2 separate regions of the Homo sapiens genome follow, and region 1 is linked to region 2. The links are contacts of gene promoters, found by promoter capture Hi-C in human tissues and cell types (Jung and others, 2019). All regions are on one chromosome and are shown on one strand. Each heading gives the region's core, a stretch centred on a gene start or on the middle of the fragment in contact. The rest is flanking DNA. Distances are from core to core; before and after follow the strand shown. Region 1 holds the start of ZNF181 (zinc finger protein 181). Region 2 overlaps UBA2 (ubiquitin like modifier activating enzyme 2).

Region 1 (5,565 bases), core at 2,009-4,508, 260 kb before region 2:
AATAATAGTTTATTGGCTAGTCAAATTATAATATGTACAAAAAATACATCTATTTAATACAGCATTATTACTGTCTTTGATTTGTGAAACAGACTGCTTGCCTGTGGTAATTTTTTAGCTCTGAGAGTTAATTCAGCATTGTATTACATTATTTGGATATTTTGCATGCATGTTCACCAGTGATACTCGTCTTTGGTTTTAAAGGCAGAATTTATTTTTGCCAGGTGTTGGGAAAATAATTAAAATTCAAATCTCCTGCCAATGGCAGAAAATCCTCTCCACAAATGTAGAAAAAAAGAACACAGTTTTATTACTTAATAATCACTAAATCAACTGTGATGCACTTCACAGGCAATCCACTAATGAGATTAAAAGGACAGGAAGAAATCTCTTTTTTATAGCCAAGCAGATACAATCCAATACATACATTTTCCAAATAATCAAGTAAGACCTTACAGTTCAATTTGCTACACATAATTTATCCTAAATTCACCTGTTAATTGGAGTTGCCACTGTGTTAGTTAATTCCCTTTATCCCAAATCAAAAAAACATTTCTCATAGCTTTATGATGAACAGGTTATTACAAGTTAGAGCCAGGGATGCTTCCTTCTTCCCCTTCAGTTGTCTGGGCAGCCTGGGGTGTTCACTCATCTCTGTCCCCAAAAGAACATAGCCTATCTGTCCTGGCATTTATTTTAATTTCTTATGCTTTCTTACTTTTCTACCAGTGCTGCAATCCTCAATACAGTAGCCACTAGGCAATTTGGCTACATACATTTAAATTAATTAAAATGTAAAAATAAAATAAGTAAAGTTTAAAATTCAGTTTCTCAGTTGCTTAAGCCACAGTTCAAGTACTCAATAGTCATACAGGGCTGGTGGCTACTGTACTGACCAGTACACATGCAGAGCACTTCCACCACTGCAGAAAGTTCTCTTAGACAATACTGCACTAGATCATGAAGTCCTGTGTGTCAGTGTACACCAAAATCCATGTACAACTTTTCCTAACAGATACTTCCTAAGTGTTTAGAAGATGAACCAATGAATGATTTTGGCATTAGTTCACTTTAGCTGTTACTTTTTTCTTGCTCTGCCGCCAGGCTGGAGTGCAGTGACATAATCATAGCTCACTGCAGCCGCACACCACAGGGTTCAAGAAATTTTCTCAACTCATCACCCTCCCGAATAGCTGGAAAAACAGGCATGTACCACCACACCAGTTTTTCAATTCTAATTATCTAACTTCTCCAAGAAAACAGACTTCACCCAACATGTACATCTGCTACTCACATCCCCTCCTATGCAAGCTTCACCTTCCATGCCATGATTCTGCCCCACCAGTTCGTCATTACTCATCTTATTCACTCCACAATTACTTACTAAGCATCTATTTGGTGCCAGGTAACCCTCTGGGTACTGAAGCTATAACAGACAACAAAAAAGAAAAAAGATTCCTCCCACCAGGAACAGACAATGAGCATGTGCATATACTGAACATACAGTACATCAGCTAGTGAGTGACACACACTGTGGAAAACAACAAAGCAGTGATGGAGGAGTGGAAGTGCTAGGCGAGGGAAGGTGACTGCGATTGCAAATAGCCATTCAGGGAAGCTTTTCTGAGAAAGTAACCACGGAACAAACACACGAAGAAGATAAGGATGCAAGTTTGTGCGTATGTGGGGGAAGAATATTCCACGTCGATGGCACAGCAACTAGTGACAGTGGCTAGAGCTCACAGGAATGAGGAGGCAGAGAAGGAAGGTGGGATCAGAAAGGTAATGGCCTAATTGTACAAATAGGTCATTGCAGAAGTGACTCAGTTAGAGCCACTGAAAAATTATAGGTTGAGGAATGACAGGAATTTATGTAACAATAGGACCACGGTCACAGCTGTACTGAGAACAGACTGATGAGGGTTAAGGGCAGATGCAGGGAATCCAGCTAGGAGGCTACCGCAATAATCCAGGTGGCTTTATTGCTATCACTACCGGGGTGGTAGTGGTGGTGGTAGTGCTGGGGTAACTAATGGTCAGATTCTGTATACAGTGTATAGCTTAGCTCCAACTAGAGGATCTGAATATAGGTATAAGTCAAAGGGAAGAATCAAGGATGACTGCAAGCATCTCTTCACTTGAGACCACATGGTACAGTTTTGACAACCATAAACCGAATAACCTTACATTCCAAAGTTGCATTGTGAATTACAGTTTTAAAATGTTGGCAAGACTAGAAAGTCTTCTAGCAGAAAACTGTAGAAAAGAGGAACACTGGGTGAGGAGGATAATACCTTGGAGCTCTCCTGTGGGCTCCGTCCTTCCTATACTGAAAGGAACCATGGATCCAGTCCCTTAAATGGACTTGGTTAGGTGGGAACAGGCAGGAGAAGCAAAGCAAACACACAGTCCTGATAAAGTGTTTCAGGAAGATTTGCGGACACACCGACCTACCTGAGGCATTACTCTGCAATTTCCAACAGCCAACAGAGTCCTCTTTCCAGGCTCTTATCTTAGAGATGGGCAGTGTCCTGAGGGCACAGAAGGGCAGGAAAAAGCAGTCATGAAAAATCAGGCTTATCTTGCGGCACCTGTGACACACCATAATGGAAAGGCACACTGGTAATCACTCTCCAGGGCGCCAATCTCTCCCTGGGAACTAACAGGGTGTTTCTCCGCAAGGGCTAACCATTTACCAGGTGCCACCTGCGAGGAAAATCAATTACTCTGTAAATAAAATCCTCATAAAACAATGGTAAAAACTTTATCAGCTCGTTCAGTCTTCACCACTATGCACGGTGTGCGTTCACATTTTTCCAGATCTATTTTTTAAACGATGACAAAACTGAAATTCCAAGATACTGAACCCATTTGTTCAAGGTTACACAACTGTAGAGCGCCGGCTTCATGACGACATAACCCAAAGACAACTGTGGCTGGCGTCTAACCACGCGCCCACTTCACTCTCACAACAGCGCCAAGAGGTCGGCGCCGTCATCACCCCGCGTTTACATAGGAGGACATGAAGGCCAGGAAAACCAAGGCACCGGCCGGGGTCACACCGCGGGGCAGACCCAGGGCCTGAGCCCCGCCGCCGCCCCCGGGACTCATACTGGCCGGAGTCCTCAGCAGGGCCTCACCGTCCCCGCAGGCGCCCCGCGTCGCTGGTGAGCGGGCAACGGCCGCCGACCTCTGGGGACGACACTGCCCAGAATCGTCCCGGAGCCTGGGAGTCGCCGTCAGGCCTGAGGCTACAGCGGGGCGGACCCAGTGCGCCGCCCACAGCCGATCGACATTTCCCAGAATCATCCGCGCAGGGGACAAAATTCCAGGCGCAACGAACCGCAGGTACCGGAAGACCACACTTCCCAGGAGTCTCTGCGGCCGCGCGGACCTGGGGCGCCGCGGGCAAACAGATCTCGGTTTCCTAAAAAACTAAACCGCCTGGGGCTGTCGTCCCAGAGCCCGGCAGTTAGGACCATGCGGGAAGTGTCCTGGGGCATATAGTCATACTGATGAGGTGAAAGATACACCTCGGAACCAAGGGCCACCCTCTACTTTTAAGGACAATGGCGCCGGGACCAAGAAACTACACTTCCCAGAAAACCGTGCGGCCGTGGCAAACTCTTCTGGGTCTAGCGTGCGCTCACACTAATGTTTATCTCCCGGGACGTGGGCAGACCTTGTACCAGGCGAGCTCTCGCCTTTGCTAGCAAAAGAGCTCCTCTCTTCCCAAACCCTGCTACTACGCTGTCCACCCTGTATGGTCTTTGAGGTCTTTGAGGTTTTTTTGGAATTCACTTGCTGGAGACTACAGCTCACAGAACGCCCTGGGCTGGATTGTGCCAGCTGTAGTTCGCGAACCAAGGACATTTCCTGGAAATGCATGCGGCCACGTATCTGTGACAGAAATGGCAGTTCTCACGTGCGTTACGCCCCCTGGAAGGACTTGGAAATACGGAACTTGAGTGAGCACTGAGAGGACACAGACCCTCATCCTGGGAGGAGTCACTCCTCCCGCAGCCATCAGAGCCTGACAACCGCTTCTCACCAGAGGCGCTTCTTAGACCCTGACCTTGCCCGGCTCACCCAAAGGGGCAATGGCCTTCTTTGTATGCAAGCCAGACAGTCTACTGTTGTATATTTGAATTTTTTACTTTATTTTTAATATTTTAATTAAATTTTAATTTAATGCTGCCTCTACCTCTGAGAGAGACAGGGAGAGATGGGGGAGGCCTGGAGTGGGGGCCCTGCGGGGCAGGGACAGGGGACCCTTCCTCACTTTGCACAATCTGGGAACCCTCCCCAAGCGGAACAGCCAGCTGCAGTGGAAAAGCACTGGCTTAGTGGGCTTCGTCCTGGGGACGAAGGCTGGGAGACTGCAGCTGAAAGGTGTGGGCTCCAGGAGGGCCGCAGGGGGCCTAGCAGCAGCGTCAGGGAGCAGAAGTCCGCCCTCCCTCCATCTTCCTTCCTTCTCTGGCCGCCAGAGCGCTCTGTCTCCCTCCCACGCCCACAGCTACAGGTGGAGCCGGCTTGGGGCGGGGGGGGGGTCCTCCTAGGGCGAAGAGGGCCAGGAGCCTTCCTGAGGACCTGAGGCTCCTCTGGGCCTCCCAGGGCTGGGCCTGTGATCTGATCTGCTTTGCCCTGGGAGGGACGTGCTCAGTGGTGGGGTTTGTGTAGCTGTCACTCATTCACCTGCCTGTGCTCAGCCACTCACCTGCTACTCCCATTGGCACCCACCCAGTACACATGTGGGTCGTCAGCTGCCATCAGGAGTAGTTCCTGCCTGTGTCACACACACCCATCCCACCCACCACACTGCAGGTTACAGGATTGCCCCACAAGCGCCACCATGCCTGCCTGAGGTTACCTGGCACACAAGTATCCTCACCTGCATGACATGACCAGATCGTGCACTTTCTATGCCAGGACCAGGGCCAGGGCAAGCTTGCACCTTCAGCCTTGGGGACACTGGGGGTGGTGGTGGCTGGAGGCCAGGGAAGTCACCAGGCTGGAGACATCATCTACCTCCAGGAGAGGGTTGATATCAGACATCTCCCATGCACCACTTTGAGCTATCTCAGCGTCACCTGGGACTCTGGCTGGCACTGTGACCAGCAGTTCCATGAAGGTTTAGACCACCTCTAGGCTTAGGAAGGGCCTCCCTTGCCATCAGCGTGGTCCAGGCTGCACGCCTGGTGACCAAGGGCTCTGGGCAGCAGATGCAGCCAGCCAGAGTGTTGGGGTGAGGGGCCTGGGCACAGGAGGGACGTGAGGCCTTCCCTGCACCCCCATGACCACCATTTCAGAGGGAGGACAGCAATTGTTTGGGTTTGTCCTGTGAGCGGTGGCAGAGGGCAGGGCCCAGGGCAGGTCCAGGGCCAGACAGGCATCCCATGCTACAGCCTCGGGGCCACGAGGGCACATGATGGGGTCGGTGTGAGGGCATCCCCTGTGCCAAATACCTGGGCAGGAGGTGCCCTGGGGTTGGTGGGTGGGTCAGGGCATTTGCAGGATTTCTGGTTTCTGTTGGAGTTGTATGTCCTGGAGAATGGAGGGAAGAGA
Region 2 (6,124 bases), core at 3,625-6,124:
GGTTTTCATTCACGCCAGTCTTTAGTTCATTGTGCTTTCAAAGGTTTCCACCCAGGCTGGCAACAGTGGTAACGTTTTCCACCGAGTGCAGCACTGCAATTTGTGTTGACAGAATGGCTGAATGACATCGTCTGCACAGTGCCTAAATTTCCTGAGACTGGTTGATCTGAGAATCAAAGTAAACCATTGAAAGACTCTAAAGTGCAAAGCCTGAGGACCTTCTCAGACGCTGTACGTTCTGGTAAAGCTTTTGCTCAGAATCTTTCCCAATCTGTGAGTCATCACTTGTTGCTAGACTTAAAATTTTTAAAACTGGCATGAGTCAGAGACATTTAGCAAAACTTCCTAAAATGTTACTTTACCAGGAGATAATTGTCTTCAAAACATAGCCAAACTACACAGTGGCGTTGTAGCCCCGTAGTTCAACTGTTGATTTTTAATTTTTTTAGTTTGAGTTCTAAAATTTTTCAAATAAGCTTTTGGATGCAATGTGTTTTGAATTGGATGCAGGAAAAAGAAAATGTTCCTTCTGTGAGCACAATGCAAATAATGTGCTCCCAGTGTGAAATAAAAATACTTCTCTAAATATATCCTCCCTCAAAATGGTCAAATGGACCTCAGGAATATTGCTTTAAAATGCAAAGAAACAGGAGGTCCTCCCTACCTCTACATGTCACAATGACTAGAAACATCTGCTGACATTTTTTCTTCTCTGATCTTTTTGGGTTTTCTTTACTTTTCACATTTTTATTTTATTTATTTATTCATGTATTTATTTTTTTTTGAGACAGTCTCACTCTGTCACCCAGGCTGGAGCACAATGACACCATCTCAGCTGACTGCAACCTCTGCCTCCCGGGTTCAAGCAACTCACATGCCTCAGCCTCCCAAGTAGCTGGGATTACAGGTGTGCACCACCACACCCAGCTAATTTTTCTATTTTTTTAGTAGAGATGGGGTTTCATCATGTTGGCCAGACTGGTCTCGAACTCCTGGCCTCAAGCGATCTATCTGCCTCAGCCTCCCAAAGTGCTGGGATTACAGGCATGGGCCACCTCACCTGGCCCACATTTTTGGTTTTTGTATATTACAAAAGGCTGGTAAGTGGCTTACATTTGGCCATGTTCCTTGGGTGTAGGCCAAGTCCACGTCAGACATGTATGCCACTGATGGACAATTTTCAGGAACATCTATTATCAACTAAATGCTGTCTGGCAGCCTCTGAGTGGGCCATTCATCTAGTGGGAACCACCTGGCTTAGTTCTCTGGAGGCTCAAATGAAAGAGAATCCTTCCTAAGTCACAGCCTAGCAACAAGAAGGATGGGTAAAGCTGACTTCAACAGTGTTGAGCCCAGAATCCCACTAACACTTTCTCTTTCCACCTTATATGTTTAATAACCTTTATTGCCTTTCTGACTTTAATCATAGGACATACTCAATATAAAACTTGGAAAAGTCAAATAGGCACAAAAGGAAAATAGACTGCCTGTGTATGTATATATGCATTTGTGCGTGTGTGCATATATATACATATATTCACTTCTATTATGAAAGTTTTCAAAGCTGAATGGTACAATGAAACACACACAGTACCTAGGTTCAATAAATGTTAATTTTGCTGTTTTCCTCCCCATATAGCCTGAGAAAGGTGCAGTGGCTCACAACTGTAATCCCAGCACTTTGGGGGAGGCCAAGGAGGGAAGATCGCTTTAGCCCAGGACTTTCAGACCAGCCTGGGCAACAGAGCAAAACCCCTTCTACAAAAAATTGAAAAAATTAGCCAGGCGTGGTGGCGTAACACCTGCAGTCCCAGCTACGTGGGAGGCTGAGGGAGGAGGATCGCTCGAGCCCAGGAGTTTGAGGCTGCAATGAGCTATGATTATACCACTTTACTCCAGCCTGGGCACCAGAGCAAGTACGTCTCAAAAAAAAAAAAAGTTGCTGGTATTGAAGATTTGCCCATAATACACTAAAAAGAACATAATTACAATCACATTATCGTACTGAAGAAAACAATTCTATATTACCTATATTCGTTTCATTTTCAAATTTCCAATTGTTACAAGAATTGTTATAGTCATTTTTGTTGAACTAGGATGCAAAAAAAATTATTCATACATTGTATTGGGTTGTCTCTTAAATGTCTTTTAACCCCAGAATGCCTACTCCTTCCTTTTTTGAAATGACACTTACTGAAGAGCCCTGGCAGTTACGGAATATCACAGATATTCTGCTCACCTGATTGTTTCTAAATGTTAACTTGTGCCTCTACCCCCTCTCCATTTCCTGTCAGCTGGAGGTCTAGATGCTTGGTTAGATTCCAGTCAACAATTTCTTGGTGAGATACTGCTGTGTTCTTGGTATCATCTTAGGAAGCACAGAAACATCAGGCCGTCCCATAAGTGACACTAGGTTTGATCACTTGATTATGGTGGCGGCAGTCAGATCTGTCAATTGTGAAGATTGGTGTTTTCCAAATTAGGCGTGGTGGCTCACATCTGCAGTCCCAGCTACTCAGGGGTGCTGAGGTGGGAAGATCACTTGAGCCTGAGAAGTCGAGGCTGCAGTGAGCTGTGATCACATCACTGCACTCCGGCCTGGGGGACAAAGCGAGACGCCCCTCTCTAAAATAAGTAAAGATTGATGTTTTCCTTTTGCAAGTGACCTGTGCAGCAACATTTGAGTGTTGTGCTAAAATTCTGTTCCTCAGCAGCCTTTTACCTGAAAGGTTTTGGCATCCAGTGATCTTTGCCTGGTCAGTTATCTCATTAATGGGTTAAAATGTTGGAACCTCTCATGGCACATGCTGAGCAGCCAGTAGTCTTCAGGACAATGGATTCTCTAGGTAAACTTGTCACCACACTGTTCCAAGTGAGGCTGGAAGACAGTTTGTCAACACCATATTTCAGGCTGGAGGTGGAAAGAAGCTGTTGAGGAAACTCCCTTTGCAAGCCCTACTCCCAGCTCCCAGCTGGTGAGACAATTTACATGGAAAAACCATGAATACAACACAAGATCTGAAGTGTCTCCACCCTCTAGGCACCTAGGGAAAGCTTGGATTTGCTTTGGTACACTGTCTAGTTGTACAGGATCCCTGCAACTAGTAGTCAGACCTGCCTTCCTAACAAACCTGCTGAAAAAGGTAGTAATAGTTAATGCAAAGATGAAAAACACTGGTCTGCCAAATTAGAAACAACTCCGCAGACCTAACTGGCACTTATCATCATGCACTATACATTCAAATAGGAAAGAACAAAAGAACATACACAAAATATCGGGAACACATTGTTAACTGTGTCTACAAAGCAGGGTGAGGACAGGGCACGCGGCTCAGGGCCTATAATCCCAGTACTTGGCAAGGCCAAGGTGGGAGGATCGCTTGAGGCCAGGAGTTGGAGACAAGCCTGGGCAACGTGAGACCGTCTCCACAAAAGAAGTTTTAAAAATTAGCTGGGCATGGTGGTGAGCTCCTGTAGTTCCAGGGACTTAGGAGGCTGGGGAGGGAGAATTGCTTGAAGCCAGGAGGTCAAGGCTGCAGTGACCTATGACGGCACCACTGCAAAAATAAAGGCAGGCAGGATGATGTGTAAGAATGGACAGAATTTCAAAATCAAATTTCTAGAGAGCTTTTCAGAATAAAAAGTTTGAAGAGTGAGACGGCATCCTAAGATATTTCATTTTATATTACATAGTTAAGTTTCAAATTATTTTCTGGAGGAAAATTAAACACCTTCTAAAAACCTAAAGGCAGATGAAGCTCACAGGTGAAAGTCACTCCACTCTGGGGCTCCAGAAGGCTGAGTCTTAGTCAACATGACTTTTTTTTTCTTTTCAGAGACAGGGTCTCATTCTGTCACCCAGTCTGAAGTACAGTGGTACAATCTTGGCTCACTGCACACCCCGCCTCCCAGGCTCAAGCGATCCTCCTCCATCAGCCTCCCGAATAGCTGGGGCTACAGGCAAGTGCCACCAGGCTCAGCTACTTTTTGTATTTTTTGTAGAGATGGGGTTTTGCCATGTTGCTCAGGCTGGTCTCAAACTCCTGGGCTCAAACGATCCTCCTGCCTCAGCCTCTCAAAGTGCAAGGCTTATGGGTGTGAGCCACCACACCCAGTCTTCTACATGGTTTTTCTGAAAGCTCTGATTACATGCTGAATTTACAAATGGTGGAAAACAAGGAGTAATGGTTAATAAGCTGAATGGTACAGTACAAATTACACAAGGAACAATACATGAATTAGAAATTTAAAATTTAGTTGAAATATAAAATAAATTATTGCCAGAAACACAAAGGGCACATGAATACAATAGGGGAAACAGCTTAATGGCTTTCTGTTCTCTGAAAACTCAAGGCCCATCTCTGAGTGATAAGAGTACCCTAACAGGCAAAGCCCTCTGAGGTCCGGGACCAGGAAGACAGTGCTACTCCACCTACTGGCGGTCTGGCACTATCTGTAGGCTGGAGTTGGGCTGGGGATGGTACATTCAAAATGGACTTTGGTAAACTAGGGGACAACCCAGACAAACACTGCAGAAAGGAGGAAGGACTCCCTTTCCAGCATCTCAAATTCAAGGCTCCAAGTTACTGGGCTTGGGCAAAGTCACACATTTTCTCAACAAAGGCCAACTGCTGACAATCCAAATTTTAAAAACACTGCCATTAGGCCAGGCGCAGTGGCTCACGCCTGTAATCCCAGCACTTTGGGAGGCTGAGGCAGGTGGATCACGAGGTCAGGAGTTCCAGACCAGCCTGGCCAACATAGTGAAACCCCATCTCTACTAAAAATACAAAAAATTAGCTGAGCGTGGTGGAGGGCGCCTGTAATCCCAGCTACAGGGGAGGCTGAGACAGGAGAATCGCTTGCACCTGGAAGGCGGAGGCTGCAGTGAGCCAGGATCGCGCCACTGCACTCCAGGCCAGATGACAGTGTGAGGCTTCATCTCAAAAACGAACAAAAAACCCACTGCCATTAAAAGCTTTATTTTATTTACTTATTTTTTAGAGACAGGGTCTTGCTATGTTACCCAGGCTGGCCTTGAACTTCTGGGCTCCAGCCATCCTCCTGCCTCAGCCTCCTGAGTAGCTGGAACACAGATGTGCACCACCACCACACGCAGGAAGAGCTTTATTTTAGAAAGTACTCTTCCTACATGTGAAGTCTCCAAGAATAAAGAAAAGAAAGTACTCGTCTTTGGCAAACAGTGGAGATCTTCTGAACCTTTTTTGAGATGGAGTTTCACTCATCGCCCTGGCTGGAGTAGCAATAGCACAATCTTGGCTCACTGCAACCTCTGCCTCCCGGGTTCAAGCAATTCTGCTGCCTTAGCCTCCTGAGTAGCTGGAATTACAGGTGCCTGCCACCAGGCCCGGCTAATTTTTTTTTTTTTTTTTAGTAGAGATGGGGTTTCACCATGTTGACCAGGTTGGTCTTGAACTACTGACCTCAGGTGATCCACCTGCCTCAGCCTTCCAAAGTGCTGGGATTACAGGCATGAGCCACCGTGCCCGACCGAGTTCTTTTTTTAATGAAAAGAATTTGACATTCCTGCAGTAGATATAAGGCAGCAGAAACAGGAACTGTGCAGGCATGTGTAACAAGAATGCAGATGCCATTTATTTGGTCCATAAGTATAGTCGTTATTTGAGTTTTACAAAACATCGAATATAAATAACCTGAAACTGTAACAATACACAAAAATTGGCTTCTTACACAGACATACCAGGCGGTACAAACTGAAAACTTGAGTAAATTAACATTGTTTTACATTAATATACATAGTGCCATCTAACATTTAAAAACAAGTTTCAATGCATAGCACTCGATACTTCTTTGAATCTGTTTCAATCAGTTAAGAGTATGAAAATGGTTAGATCTAGGCTAAAAATAATTCTTCTTCTAGCCAAAAATAAAGGCATAATATTTATAACCAGGTATCAACTTTACTAAACCACAATATTTTGAAACTATTAATGATACCTACGGGTATTTACATTAAAAAGGCAACATGCATTGTGTTGTTTTATCTCATGACTGGTTATGCACACACTTTGTTCAAAGGGTTTTTAAAACTATATTCCTACTTTCAATACAGCATACTGCAATGTGTCTAACAGTTCTAGCA

Evidence for each region. The method cuts DNA at HindIII sites, captures the fragments that hold promoters and counts their contacts. A contact is called where the count stands out against the background at its distance.
Region 1: the fragment with the promoter of ZNF181 here is called in contact with a fragment that was not itself captured in region 2 in 5 of the 25 tissues and cell types used here (heart left ventricle, liver, lymphoblastoid cells and 2 more).

Annotation. Positions count from the first base shown.
Region 1 is chr19:34,731,936-34,737,500 of GRCh38, reverse strand. It overlaps ZNF181 (zinc finger protein 181), which reads right to left and starts at 3,258. Exons shown (of 4, transcript NM_001029997.4): 1 at 2,455-3,258. The coding sequence starts at 2,463. RefSeq lists silencers at 3,016-3,075, 3,176-3,225 and enhancers at 3,506-3,895, 3,616-4,133, 4,351-4,410. The HindIII fragment of the contact is 5,149 bases long and covers 1,466-5,565 here.
Region 2 is chr19:34,469,362-34,475,485 of GRCh38, reverse strand. UBA2 (ubiquitin like modifier activating enzyme 2) reads right to left here. Exons shown (of 17, transcript NM_005499.3): 17 at 4,235-6,124. Among named protein-coding and RNA genes, the nearest start is that of WTIP, 9.3 kb to the left of the region's middle. The HindIII fragment of the contact is 6,218 bases long and covers 1,766-6,124 here.